Regions from separate parts of the Homo sapiens genome. Here all the other regions are linked to region 1. Evidence: promoter capture Hi-C in 16 types of primary human blood cells and fetal thymus (Javierre and others, 2016). All regions are on one chromosome and are shown on one strand. Each heading gives the region's core, a stretch centred on a gene start or on the middle of the fragment in contact. The rest is flanking DNA. Distances are from core to core; before and after follow the strand shown. Region 1 holds the start of FMNL1 (formin like 1). Region 2 overlaps MAPT-AS1 (MAPT antisense RNA 1). Region 3 has its middle 4.4 kb from the start of SPPL2C.

What was found. The method cuts DNA at HindIII sites, captures the fragments that hold promoters and counts their contacts. A CHiCAGO score of 5 or more calls a contact.
Region 2: a contact is called between a fragment that was not itself captured here and the fragment with the promoter of FMNL1 in region 1, in 1 of 17 cell types (endothelial precursors). The highest score is 6.1, in endothelial precursors.
Region 3: a fragment that was not itself captured here is called in contact with the fragment with the promoter of FMNL1 in region 1 in 1 of 17 cell types (endothelial precursors); the score reaches 6.0 in endothelial precursors.

Annotation. Positions count from the first base shown.
Region 1 is chr17:45,219,449-45,223,634 of GRCh38, reverse strand. FMNL1 (formin like 1) reads right to left here and starts at 1,750. Exons shown (of 27, transcript NM_005892.4): 1 at 1,382-1,750. The coding sequence starts at 1,510. It overlaps FMNL1-DT (FMNL1 divergent transcript), which reads left to right and starts at 1,870. Exons shown (of 3, transcript NR_147507.1): 1 at 1,870-2,286; 2 at 3,181-3,367. RefSeq lists enhancers at 211-711, 712-1,212 and silencers at 1,059-1,353, 1,276-1,385, 1,666-1,715, 1,726-2,175. The HindIII fragment of the contact is 10,145 bases long and covers 1-4,186 here.
Region 2 is chr17:45,854,651-45,858,836 of GRCh38, reverse strand. All of the region lies in intron 1 of MAPT-AS1 (MAPT antisense RNA 1), which reads left to right. Among named protein-coding and RNA genes, the nearest start is that of SPPL2C, 12 kb to the right of the region's middle. The HindIII fragment of the contact is 2,028 bases long and covers 1,045-3,072 here.
Region 3 is chr17:45,838,365-45,842,550 of GRCh38, reverse strand. No RefSeq gene overlaps it. Among named protein-coding and RNA genes, the nearest start is that of SPPL2C, 4.4 kb to the left of the region's middle. RefSeq lists a silencer at 1,894-2,103. The HindIII fragment of the contact is 2,429 bases long and covers 708-3,136 here.

The DNA.
Region 1 (4,186 bases), core at 501-3,000:
AGCTTTGTGAAGTCCTATGCTTGGGGAGCGGGGAGCAGGGCAGGTGGAGAGATGGAGAAGTCAGGGGCCAGCCTGGTGTGAGGCGTCCCTCAGTGTCCCTGCCCTCCTCTAATCAAGCAAGGTGTCTTCACAAGGATGGATCCCTCGCCACCCCATAGCTCCTCCAAACTCCCCCCAGCCTTCTCTTGGGAGAGGACAGAAGCCAACATTTTCAGGAACTGTTAGGAGGTGACCCTCTGGAGCCATGCTGAGGATCTAGCACGTATGGCCTAATGACCAGCCAGGCGAGGGGAAATGATGTCAAGGAGATGGAGGGCCACCAACTGAGCCAGAACCCTCTGCGGCCTGTGTCTCCGTTGAGCCCCCACCCTCAGACCTGCAGGGACTGGGAAATGCATCTGGGAGAAGGCACAGCCTCATTTTGCCTGTCACCCAGCGTCCAGCAAGGGAAGGCTGACAGCAGGCAGGCCACCAGGCAATTAGTTAGAGGAGGGAGCCAGGGCCAGGGCGTCGGGGGTGGGGAGAGTGAGAGTGAGCAGCTCTTCCTCTCCCTACTTCTGCCTTATGCAGGGTCTTGGAGACCCCTGAGTCTGCTCTGGAGCCCCCACCCCACTGAACATGTTGACTGTTTCCAGGCTCGGCCTGAGCTGCTGGTTCCCTCCCAGAGACCTATTCCCCAGCGACCCCGCTCCAATTCCCCAGGTAGGCACAGAGGGGGGTGGTTCCAGATTTTGCTCCACCCCTAGCCTGGGCGACCCACCCGTCCTGACCCCACCCTCCCTCATCTTACTCCCTTCAGTGGCTTGGAAAGGATGCCCCAAGATAAAGACCCACAGGCACCCTGGCTCTGACATATGGCGGGGTAGAAACACAGATACCTCCTGGCCATGATCCGACAACCCCATTCCCCGCAGCCCAGGCGCCCAACAAATCAGGACCCAACACCTCCAGCAGGTCTCCCGCTCCCGGGAGGTTGTAACCCTTTCATCTTTGACTCCAGACACAGAAAGGCAGATGCCCCAGACCCGCGCCCGGTGGCTGGGCCTGCGTGCAGTGGGGAAGGGGGCGACCCGGGACCCCTGTGCGTGCCCCGCTCCCAACTTCTTCACAGGACATACTTGTTTAGACCTTAAGACCCAGCTGGGGTGGAGGCGTCTTAGGGAGGGAGACCGGGCGATAACTGAAGAAAGTTTTGGGGGGAGAGTGCTAAGTCACTCTGAAAAAAAGGCCACTGTCGCTCCCACCTCCTGGAGGGGGCAGCTGCCGGACCGGGGATCTCCAAGCGGCACCTGAGTCCCCGGGGGCGGGGACGCGCGCCCAGCCCCTGCCGCGCCCCTGCCGCCCCCCGCCCGCGCCCGACCCGCCTCCGGGTCGCACTCACCAGGGCGCGGTTGAACCTCTCCTCCAGCTCTCCGGCCGCGGGCATCGGCTGCTTGGGAGGCGCGGGCTGCTTGGGGGGCGGCGCGGCGGGGCCCGCGGGCTGCTCGGCGCTGCCGGCCGCGTTGCCCATGGTGGTCCCCACCCAGCCGGCCAGGCGCCTCCAGCCTCGGAAATCCAGCTTTCCGGGGGACGGGGACGAGGCTCCCGGCCCGGGCGGGGGCGAGGGGGCAGCGGCTGGCGGTGGCGGCGGGGGTCTCGGCAGCGGGGGGCGCTCGGCTCAGCGGCGCGCAGGGGCCGGAGCGCGGCGTCCCATCGGGGCGGCCCCGTCCGTGGGACCGGGCGGCGAGCTGCAGGGTTGGGGGAGGAAGTCAGGCTGCAGGCCGCCGGGGCCAGAGGGCTGGGCCGGGGGCAGGAAGCTGCGGCGCTGGCTCCCCCCTCGGCGATTTTCGAACTTCTGCTGTCGCTCCCCGTGCGCGCAAACCGCAGTTCGCCGCCGCCGCCGCCGGGCACCCAGCCCCAGGGGGGCGGGCTGGAGGGAGGGGGCGGGCGCTGGCCGGGGGACCCCCGCAACCATGGCGGGCGGGGAGTGGGCTGCCGAGCCGCTTCACCTGCCGCAGAGGGGGCGGCCGGCGCCGCTTCACCTGCCGGAGCGGGAGGCCACCGAGGCGAGGCCGAGGCGGCGGCGCGCTCGGCGGCGCCTCCGGGTCCTAGAACCGCATCCTCCCGCTCGCCTCGGGCGAGGGATTGGCCGGGTCTGGGTGAAGGGGATCACGGCCTGGGGATTGGAGGGGCACATCTTCTCCGCACCGAGGATCTCAGCGACTGCGAGCACGGCTCGGAGACCCACGGTGGTGCAGCGTTGGGGCGCCAGGGCTGCGTTCCCGTCTCGCGTCCCGGACTGAGAAGGTGGGAACCCCCTTCCAGGCCCCCCACCTTTTATTTCTCTCCTCCCCTGCTTAGCCCAGAGACGAGCTGAGGACGAGGGGGAGCCATCTCCAAACAGGAACTCCTAAACAGGGTGGGGGGCGCGGACGCAGGCCAGTGGAGACCCCCGCCACCTGTCCCACCTCGACCAACCGTGCGCCTGTGCAGGGCACCCCTACAGGTTTTAGAATGGGGGCACCTATGGAATATGGCAGGCTGCGAGAAGCTGGGCCCGCCAAGGTGGTCCCAAGGAGGAGTGGGGGGTTGCGGAAAGGAGGATGAGAGCCAGCCACAAGGCTGGAAAAGGAGTGGGCACCGCAGAGGAGGGAAAAAGAATCTTGACACTGTCACCGCCAGGGATCTAGGGGGGCCTCTTACCTTGGAGAATAACAATCTCTGATGTCTGCTAATTACAGAAATACTTTCAGAGCTCTTTCATTCATCCTGACAATGGCCAGAGAAGGTAGGTATTGGTAGCCTTATTTTAGAGATGGGGAAACTGAGGCTGAGAGTAGGTAAGTAAGCTGTCCAAGGGCACTCAGCTAACAAAGGACAGAAGCAAGCCTCCTCACTGTCTACCTCCAAAACCTACACTGGCTTGGAGTTGCTGTCCTGGCCCTCCACTGCCCATCTCATGTAGGACGGGAGAGTATGGGGGGCTGGGGTCCCATCTATAGCCTGAATTTGAGACTTTCAGTTGCTCCTCTCATTCCCCATTTAATTTGTGGGGATCCCCAACTGACCCCTCCCTACACTTCCAGGGCACTGAGGAGGGAGGGCCCGCTGAAGGAGCCCCGAATTATCTCTAGGCCAGGTCAGGAGCCATTAGTGTCCCCTCCCCTGACAGCATCCTCCTCCTTCTGCCCTCACATTCAGAGCCACTGACAAGACTTTAAGCAAGAGACGGAGAGTTAACATCTAATCTGGAGGAAGACCCTGGAAGGAGCCAGCCCCTTCCCCCAGGCTGACCTGGTTTAAGCCTTTCTTCTGCCAAGGTCACCAGCACCCCAGATGGGTGAGAGATGTGATCACTGGTTTCGTGGCCTGACCAAGGACCTCCAAGGTGAGTCAAAGCAGAATTCTCCTTGGGCATGCAGGGAAAATGATCCATTCCCTGCACACTGCCATATTCTCCTTCTCAGACAGACCAGAGCCTTGCCCTTGGGTCCTTGCCCTTGAGATTAGCTAGGACCTCCTCCTCTTCTTCTCCTTCTTTCTTCTTCTTCTTGTCTCTATAAGATAACTGTCGTGGAAGACTTTTTTTTTTCTTTTAAGATGGAGTCTCTCGCTGTTGCCCAGGCTGGAGTGCAGTGGCTCGGTCTCAGCTCACTGCAACCTCCACCTCCCAGGTCCAAGCAATTATCCAGTCTCAGCCTCCTCAGTAGCTGGGACCACAGGTGCGTGCCACCACACCCAGCTCATTTTTGTATTTTTAGTAGAGACGGGGTTTTGCTATGTTGACCAAGCTGGTCTCGAACTCCTGACCTCAAGTGATCCGCCTGCCTCGGCCTCCCAAAGTGCTGGGATTACAGGCATGAGGCACCCCGTCCAGCCTGGAAGACTTTTTTTTTTAATGAATAAAAACACATTTTTTTAAAGAATGGATTCCCTGATTCCTCAATGGCTGTCTCTTTCAATTGAACAATAAACCTTTACTTAGCATCAGCTACATGCCCATCACTGTGCTTGGTCCTGCAGATTCTGTGGCAGATGAGAAATGCCTTGGTCCTTGGGCTGCTTGCAGCCTAGCGAGGGACAGACTTTTAACCTCTCTAGGAGAGTGGCTGCTTCAAGTCATCCTATGGGACCAGCTGTTCATGCTTCCTCTTGCCCAGAACTACTTCTGTGAGAGGAAAAGAGAAGGGTAGGAGCGTGCCCTGCA
Region 2 (4,186 bases), core at 809-3,308, 630 kb before region 1:
TAAAATTCAGACTCTGATCCGGGAGAAGCAATCTCCAGGAAGAACAACCTTGTGATCCAGTGGCCCCTGCCTTCCTCACCCTCCCTCTCCAGCCACAGCTGATTGGACCTGGGGTGGGCACCTGAGTCAGGGACCCATGGGCTCACCCACAGTCAGTGACAGGATGCCAAACAAATAGGGTCCCTAGAGAGTGTGGAAGCCAGGTAGATTCTCTCGAGAGAGTCTGAAATGTGGCTGCATAGACACCGTTGCCTGTTGTTGGTGACCCCTGGGCTGAGAGGCAATGACGTGGAGTTGGGGGCCAGTGGCATGACGAGACAAGGGCAAAATGGGTGAGCAGAGGCAGCCAGCCCAGGGAGGGGAGAAGAGGAAGTGGAGGCCCAGAGATTATGAAGCTCGGCGAGGCAGAAAGCTTTCTAATTCCCAGTTCCCATGAGCCCTGACTGGGCTGTTTGCCCTTCTGTTCTGAGAAATTCCTGTGTCCCTTCAAATATGCTTCTCTTTTGGCTTAAGCTACTTTGAGCAGTTTCTTATTCTTCAAAGCCGAAAGAGTCTTAAAGAGAATGCATCCATGACCCTCTCCCGCCACTCTCACATCTTGTTTATGTTCATCTCCAGGACCTTGGACAGGGCCCAGCACAGGGGCCCTGGAATGTGGACTGTCTCAGTGGATTCTTGTTTATAGGAATTAGAGGAAGGTGGAAGAAGCTCATTCCAGGTGAGCAGAGGCACGGAGCAAGGGTGAGCGTGTGAGAAGAGCCATGTGAACAGGATGTATAGGGGCCAGTGGAGGGAAGGCCAGTCAGGAGGGAAGGCTGGATGCAGATGGCCTTAAACACCAGGCTGAGGAGTTGGGGTTGGTTTGACAAATGGTAGGGAGGTATCAGAAGTCCTGCAGCTGGATGGACATGACAAAGAACAGTTGTGCCCTTTTCTTTAACAAGGATTCAGATGGCCTGGGTGACAGATGACATCTTGGGACTGAAATGAACAAATAATAAACCTATGCATGGAACTCTTACAAGAAAACATCAGGCAAAAGCTTACCAACATCGAATTTGGCAATGATTTCTTAGATATGACACCAAAGGCACAGACAACAGACTTCATAAAAAAGAAAAACTAGACTTCATAAAAGTTAAAAAAATTTTGTTAATCCTAAGACACTATCAACAGAGTAAAAAGGCAACCCACAGTATGGAGGAAAATATTTGCAAATTATATATCTGATAAAGGATTAATATTTAGAATATATAGAGAACTTCTAAAACTCAACAACTAAAAGACAAACAACCTGATTCAAAAAAGGACAAAGGTTTTGAAAATACATTTCTCCATTTAAAAAGACAAATGGCCAATAAGCACATGGAAAAATGAGCATTAGAAAAATGCCAATCAAAACTATAATGAGATATTACCTCATATCTATTAAGAAGACTGCTATTAAAAAAAAAAAACAAAAAAACAATACAAAAAAACCCCAGAAAATTGGCTGGACATGGTGGCTTATGCCTATAATCCCAGCAGTTTTGGAGGCTGAGGGAGATGGATCACCTGAGGTCAGGAGTTTGAGACCAGCCTGGCCAACATGGTGAAACCTTGTCTCTACTAAAAACACAAAAATTAGCCAGGCGTGGTGGTGCACACCTGTAACCACAACTACTTGGGAGGCTGAGGCAGGAGAATGGCTTGGACCCAGGAGGTGGAAGTTGCATGAGCCGAGATCGTGCCACTGTACTCTAACCTGGGCGACAAGAGCGAAACTCTGTCTCAAAACAAACAAACAAACAAACAACAACAACAAAAACCCAAAACCAGAAAATAGGTATTGATGAAGATGTAGAGAAATTGGAACACATGTGCACTATTGGTGGGAATGTAAAATGCTATAGTCTCTATGGAAACAGTATGGCAATCTCTTAAAAAATTAAACAGAGGCTGGGCACCGTGGCTTACACCTGTAATCCCAGCACTTTGAGAGGCTGAGGCAGGAGGATCGATTGAGCTCAGGAGCTCACAACCAGCCTGAGCAACATAGTGAGACCGCATCTCCACTAAAAAAAAAAAAAAAAAAAATTAGCCATGCATAGTGGTGTGCACCTGTAGTTCCAGCTACTTGGGGGACTGAAGTGGGAGGATTGCTTGAGCCCAGGAAGTCAAGGCTACAGTGAGCAGTGATCGTGCCACTGCACTCCAGCCTGGATTACTGAGCAAGACCCTGTCTCAAACAAACAAACAAACAAACACCATAAAGCCAGGGGCTCATGCCTGTAATCCCCGCTACTTGGGAGGTTGAGGGAGGATTGCTTGAGCCCAGGAGTTCGAGACCACCCTGAGCAATGCAGCAAGACCCCATTCCCAATAAATACATACATACATACATACATACATAAATAAATACATACATACATACATAAACAAAAAATTGAACATAGAATTACCATGTGATTCAGAAATTGCACTTCTGGGTATATAACCCAAAGAACTAAAAACAGGGCCTCAGAGATATTGAAAGTAATGGCAAAAACCACAATAAATTTTGCACTATCTAATATTTGCACACCAATGTTTATAGTAACCCAAGTTTCCACCAACAGAGGAATGAATGGCTAGGCAAAATGTGGTGCATACACACAGTGAATGTTACTCATCCTTAAAAAGGAAAGGAATCCTGCAGTATGCTGCCACATGGATGAGCCTTAAGGCCATTATGCTAAATGAAATGAGTCAGTCACAAAAAGACAAATTCTGTGTGATTCCACTTATATGAGGCACTTAGGGTAGTCAAAATCATAGAGACAGGAAGTAGAATGGTGGTTGCCAGAGGCTGGGGAGGAAGGCATGAGAGTTATTGTTTGTGGGTATGGAATTTCGTTTGACAAGATGAAGAGTTCTAGAAATGGATGGTGGTGCTAGTTGCACAACATTGTAAGTGTATTCAATAATATTGCTGAGCTGTACACTTTGATAAATTTTGTTATGTGTATTTTACCACAATTAAAAAAATAAAAACAAAACCAAACCCTTATGCGTGGGGAAAACAAATGACTGGATGGAAATAAAACAAAAGCTTATAGTAATGTGGATTTTTTTTTCTACTTTCCTGTGCTTTCCAATTTTCCTCTAGAGTGCAATCAATAACAGTGGAAAGAAGTCCCTGGAGCCCAGTGCAGTGGCTTGAACTGAGAATGCACTCACTGGCTGTTGCAGCCAAGACTCCAGTTCTCGCCTCTCTTTCCCTGACTCCCCTGTGCCCACCTTTCCCCTGCAGGAAAGTATACCCGGCGGGCCAGGGGGCTTTTGTGGTTGGGTTATGTCTTCATCTTGTCTGCTCTGTGAGCCATTTACTTCTCAGGCACAGCTCTGGGCGCAAGGGCAGCCTGTGCCACAGATGTCTGTTGAACCCTGGATTCGCGTCTGTGGCTGCTGTATAGATGATCACACGCCTGATGGCTTCAAACGACAGAAATATACCCTCTCACGGCTCTGGGGGCCAGAAGTCTGGAATCAGGATCATTGGGCTGAAATCAAGGGGTCAGGGCTGTGTTCCCTCTGGAAGCTCTAGGGGGAATTCATTCCTTACCCCTTCCAGCTCGTGCTGGCTGCTGGCAGTCCTTGGCTTGTGGCCACATCACTCCAATCTGTCTCCATCACCACATTGCCTTCTCCACTTCCATGTGTGTAATCCTGCTGTCTCCTCTGTCTCTCTCTCTAGCTCTTTTTTTTTTTTTTTTTGAGACAGAGCTTCGCTCTGTTGCCCAGGCTGGAGTGCAGTGGCGCAATCTCGGCTCGCTGCAACCTCCACCTCCCGGGTTCAAGCAGTTCTCCTACCTCAGCCTCCCAAGCAGCTGGGATTACAGGCACCCACCACCATGCTCGGTTAATTTTTGTATTTTTAGTAGAGACAGGGTTACACCATGTTGTCCAAGCTGGTCTCGAACTCCTGACCTCAGGTGATCCACTTGCCTCGGCTTTCCAAAGTGCTGGGATTACAAGCATAAGCCACTGCACCCAGTCCTCTCTCTCTCTTTTTTTTTTTTATTGAGATGGAGTCTCACTCCGTCACCAAGGCCGGAGTGCGGTGGTGCAATCTCCCCTCACTGCAACCTCCGCCTCTGGGATTCAAGCTTTCTCTCCTGCCTCAGCCTCCCAAGTAGCTGGGATTACAGACATGTGCCACCATGCC
Region 3 (4,186 bases), core at 673-3,172, 620 kb before region 1:
CTTCTATTACGGGTCCATCTCTTGCAGTCCCAAACTGCTTTCCTTGGGAAATCCACAGGGATGAAACATCATCTCCAACATCAGCTGTGGATTCTTTGAAGTGGAGGGTGAGTTTAAAGGGCCATGTGAAGTGGTCAGCAAGTGGAACCCATCTGAGATTCTGACAATTCTCTCTCACCCAGTTATTTACACTCATCTCACCCACACCTAATTTGCCAATATTTTTGGTGACTCATTTGTAAAGTATCCTTCAAAGCATTAGACTGAATTTTCATAAGAAACATCTCTCCTTGTTAGTGCACTTCTGATTCATCAGTAATATAACATTTAGTTAGATTACGACAGTAATTACAATGACAAGTGAACTGTCAGAAACATGTTCAGGAACAAATACAAGTGACTGGCAAACAAACCACCAGCCGGTGTGAGGAGAAGCAGGCAGAGCCCAGGGGAGGAGGCTGCCAGCTGTCCCTTCCGAGTGCTCCCATTTCAAAGGGGAGGTTGGCAGGAGGGTGGTTAGGAGAGGGAGGCTCGCCTGTAGGCCACAGGAGGGCTGTGACAGTAAAACCCTTTCTGGCCCCCCAGCAACGAATGGGCAACCTAGACCCTCACTCCAGGCCCTGTTCTCCACGCAGGGAGTCGTGGATCTTTTAAAAAACAAGAACCAGCACACCCACTTTGTCACAAAACCCAGACAATCACAAGCTTTGTCGAGGATATAGGGAAGTTGGGACCCTCATACACTGCTGGTGGGAATGGAAAATTGTGCAGCCGCTGCAGGAAACAGCTTGGTGGTTCCTAGATAAGTTAAGCAGAGTTATCATATGACCCAGCACTTATACTCCCAGCTATATATCCCAAAGAATTGAAATCAGGCCTTCAAACAAAAGCGTGTACATGCATGCTCATAGCAGGACTATTCATGATAACTTGGAATAGGTGGAGAGAACCCATATGTCCATCCACTGATGAATGGAGAAACTGCGGTCTCTCCACACAAGGGAATAGCATTCAGCCATAAGAAGGAATGACGTTTTGATACCTGCTACCATGTGGATGGACCTTGAAAACATTATGCTAAGCCGAAACACATTATGCTAAGTGGAAACACATTATGCTAAATGAAGACGCCAGACACAAAAGGACACATATTGTACGATTAATTCCACTTACGTGAAACAGCCAAAACAGGCAGATCTACAGAGGCAGAGAGCAGATTCGTGGCGGGCAGGGGCTGGGGGAGGGGAGAATGAGGAGTGACTGGTGGGTATGGGATTTCCATCTGGGGTGATGAAGAAGTTCCAGAACTTTTTCTATCTCAGTGGTTTCAGTTGCACGACATTGTGTATTTAAAGTCACTGAATTGTGCACTAACATGGTTGAAATGGGACTTTTTTTTGAGATGGAATTTCGCTCTTGTCCCTCAGGCTGGAGTGCAGTGGTACAATCTCAGCTCACTGCAACCTCCACCTCCCGGGTTCAAGTGATTCTCCTGCCTTAGCCTCCCGAGTAGCTGGGATTACAGGCATGCACCACCACCATGCCCAGCTAATTTTCGTATTTTTAGGAGAGACAGGGTTTCACCATGTTGGCCAGGCTGGTCTCGAACTCCTGGCCTCAAGTGATTCACCCACCTTGGCCTCCCAAAGTGCTGGGATTACAGGTGTGAGCCACAGCGCCCAGACGAAATGGAGCAACTCCAGTCCCCTCCAGCTGCTCTCTCCTCAGGACAGGTCTCATTTTAGTTCTTCTGGACTCCATCACACCAGCACATGCCCCAATTTGGGGGTCTGCACAGACACCTCAAGCAGAGCTTGCTCCTGCCCCTTCTCCCAGATCTACCCGTGGACTGGTTGCCCAGGGCCCAGATAATTCGCAGAAGGCTCATTCCCTCCGAGACTCTGCCTGGGACCCCACTCACAGAAGGCTTTCGTGGGTATGTTTGATCATTGCTTCCCCAGGTCCCCCATCCCTGTGCCCACCCCCATCCATCAGCCCTGGAATCATTCCTCTGGTGGCCACTCAGAGCACTGGTCAGTGCCCTCACATGAGTGGCTGATGCCCCTTGGGGCCATGGCCCACTGCCAGGCTGAAATCCCGCTCCAAGACTTCAGTCCCGCCACCCTCCCCACCCCCACTCCAGATTCAACTCCTTTCCTGGAGGGCACCCCCTGTATCTGTGACTTTGCTCCCCACAACTCCCCCTCCCTCCCCCCACCCTACTGCCCCCTCAGCTATGGCCTGGGCTCTCGGGGTGGCTGCCCAGAGCAGGCTGGGGTAGTGTCTCTGCCTTCTACTTGAGGACCTAGGTGCACCTGGAACATTTATCTTCAACACACAGGGCAGCAGGGCCAGCAGGCCCCAGGCAGCAGGTCTCAGGAAGGGTGGGGAAGGGGCCTAGTTCACCTGGCCCCTCACCTGCCCTTGCTGCCCTGCCCAGCAGCTTCCCCGCTGCATGTTCTAGAGTGGATTGCCATCCACTCCCTCCCCCTTCCCCTGTGATGAGGATGAGCCAGGCAGGCCCACCAGCTGCTGCCCCCATGCCCCCTCACCCTAGCTGATGCCTGCCGTGCCCCCAACCTGGGCTCCTTAGGCACCTAAGAGGCCACCACCCCTTCTTCTGCTCCACCTGCCTTGGCCCAATGGGCAATGAGGCTGGGCAGCAGGGATCAGTCAAGGACCCCTTGGAGGGACAGAAGCCGGTAGGGCTGCTATCTGGCAGCCAAGGGTGGTCTCTGGCCTTATCTCCAAATAATAGTCTCATTGGTGTTCCCAAGCCACTGAGAGCTTTGATAAATATATATGGCCCAGGCCTCTCTTGAGCCTGGTCTGCCAGCAGGACCTGCAGGTGTTGGTGAGCTGAGGGCAGGGGTGGGAGGTGATGCTCTGAGGTAGAGCTGGGATGGGGCTGGGGACGGGAGACTGGCAGGTGGAGCTGGCTTGGAGGCCAGATTTGGGGAGTGGGCTGCCCGAGGCCCACGCTCCGCAGGCTCCAATTCCTTCAGCTAGCTCATCTCTGAATGCTGTTTGACCACAGACTGGGGATGGAAGGATTTCCCTGGGGAGGGGATTGGAAGGGGCAGTGGGGCTGGGAGGACAGCCTTACTAAGAACTCCCACTGCATAGGGGTTAAGCTTCACGGATGCCTAGTGTGGCCTCCCTGGCTTTTCATCCATCCGTGGGTGCCATCAGGCAGGTATCTTAACCTCTCTGGGTTTTATTTGCCTTATCTGTTAAATGGGGATAACAGCCCCGCCTCATAGGGCAGTATAAAGAGTCAATGAGATAAACATGTGAGGGGCTAAGCAGCACCTGATGCCCGGTAAACAATCAATAATGATCAGTGTTGCTGTTAGCAAATTGTAGAAAGCATTCTCCTCGGTTTGAAGCAAGTGTGGGCAGCTGAGTTGGAAGTCAGTTGGCAGTTTGGATGAGCTGGCTCTGAGGTACCCCTGGGCTGGAGGCCAGCAGCACACTCCTTGGCTGGGGTGTAGGGGGGCCCACTGTGGCTGATGGTGGCCCCGGCTGCATTGTTTGAAATTAAGCATCATTTTAAGGAGCTGGGGGGTGGAGGATGTCAGGAAGCTGGGGAAGGAGATGCTGGATCCACAGAACTCTCATTGCTCGGCGGCTGGACACTGGTGGGGCCATCTTTGGGGAAGTCCCATCTTCACGTGGGGCACGTCCCAGATCACGGAGACCCTGAGGCCTCCTTGCTGCCCTCTTGCCACAGAGCTCTTCATTGGTTCTGGCCTCCCAGAACCCAAGCCCCTTCAGTTCACTGAGGGGTGAAAAAAGCCTTAGACTTGGAACCAGACCTTCAATCTTAGGGGAGCTGCCAGGCCTCAGTTTCCCTGGCTGCAAAACAGGTGGGTTACTACCTCTGTGGGCTAGTTGAGGATTACCCTAGAACTTAAAGTATAATAAAAATAAACAAATAAAGACACACACACACAAATATAGAGATGTGAAGTGGGAAATCAGGGGTCTCACAGCCTTCAGAGCTGAGAGCCCCGAACAGAGATTTACCCACGTAGTAAAAAAAAAAAAAAAAAAAAAAAAGACAAATGTTATAAGGATGTTTGTGGATGGCAAAGTAATCTACAATACCCACAATGAAGGTATTATTCTATGGATTCCAAACCCACCTCATCTGCTAACACATGGTTTTCCCCATCTGACTCTC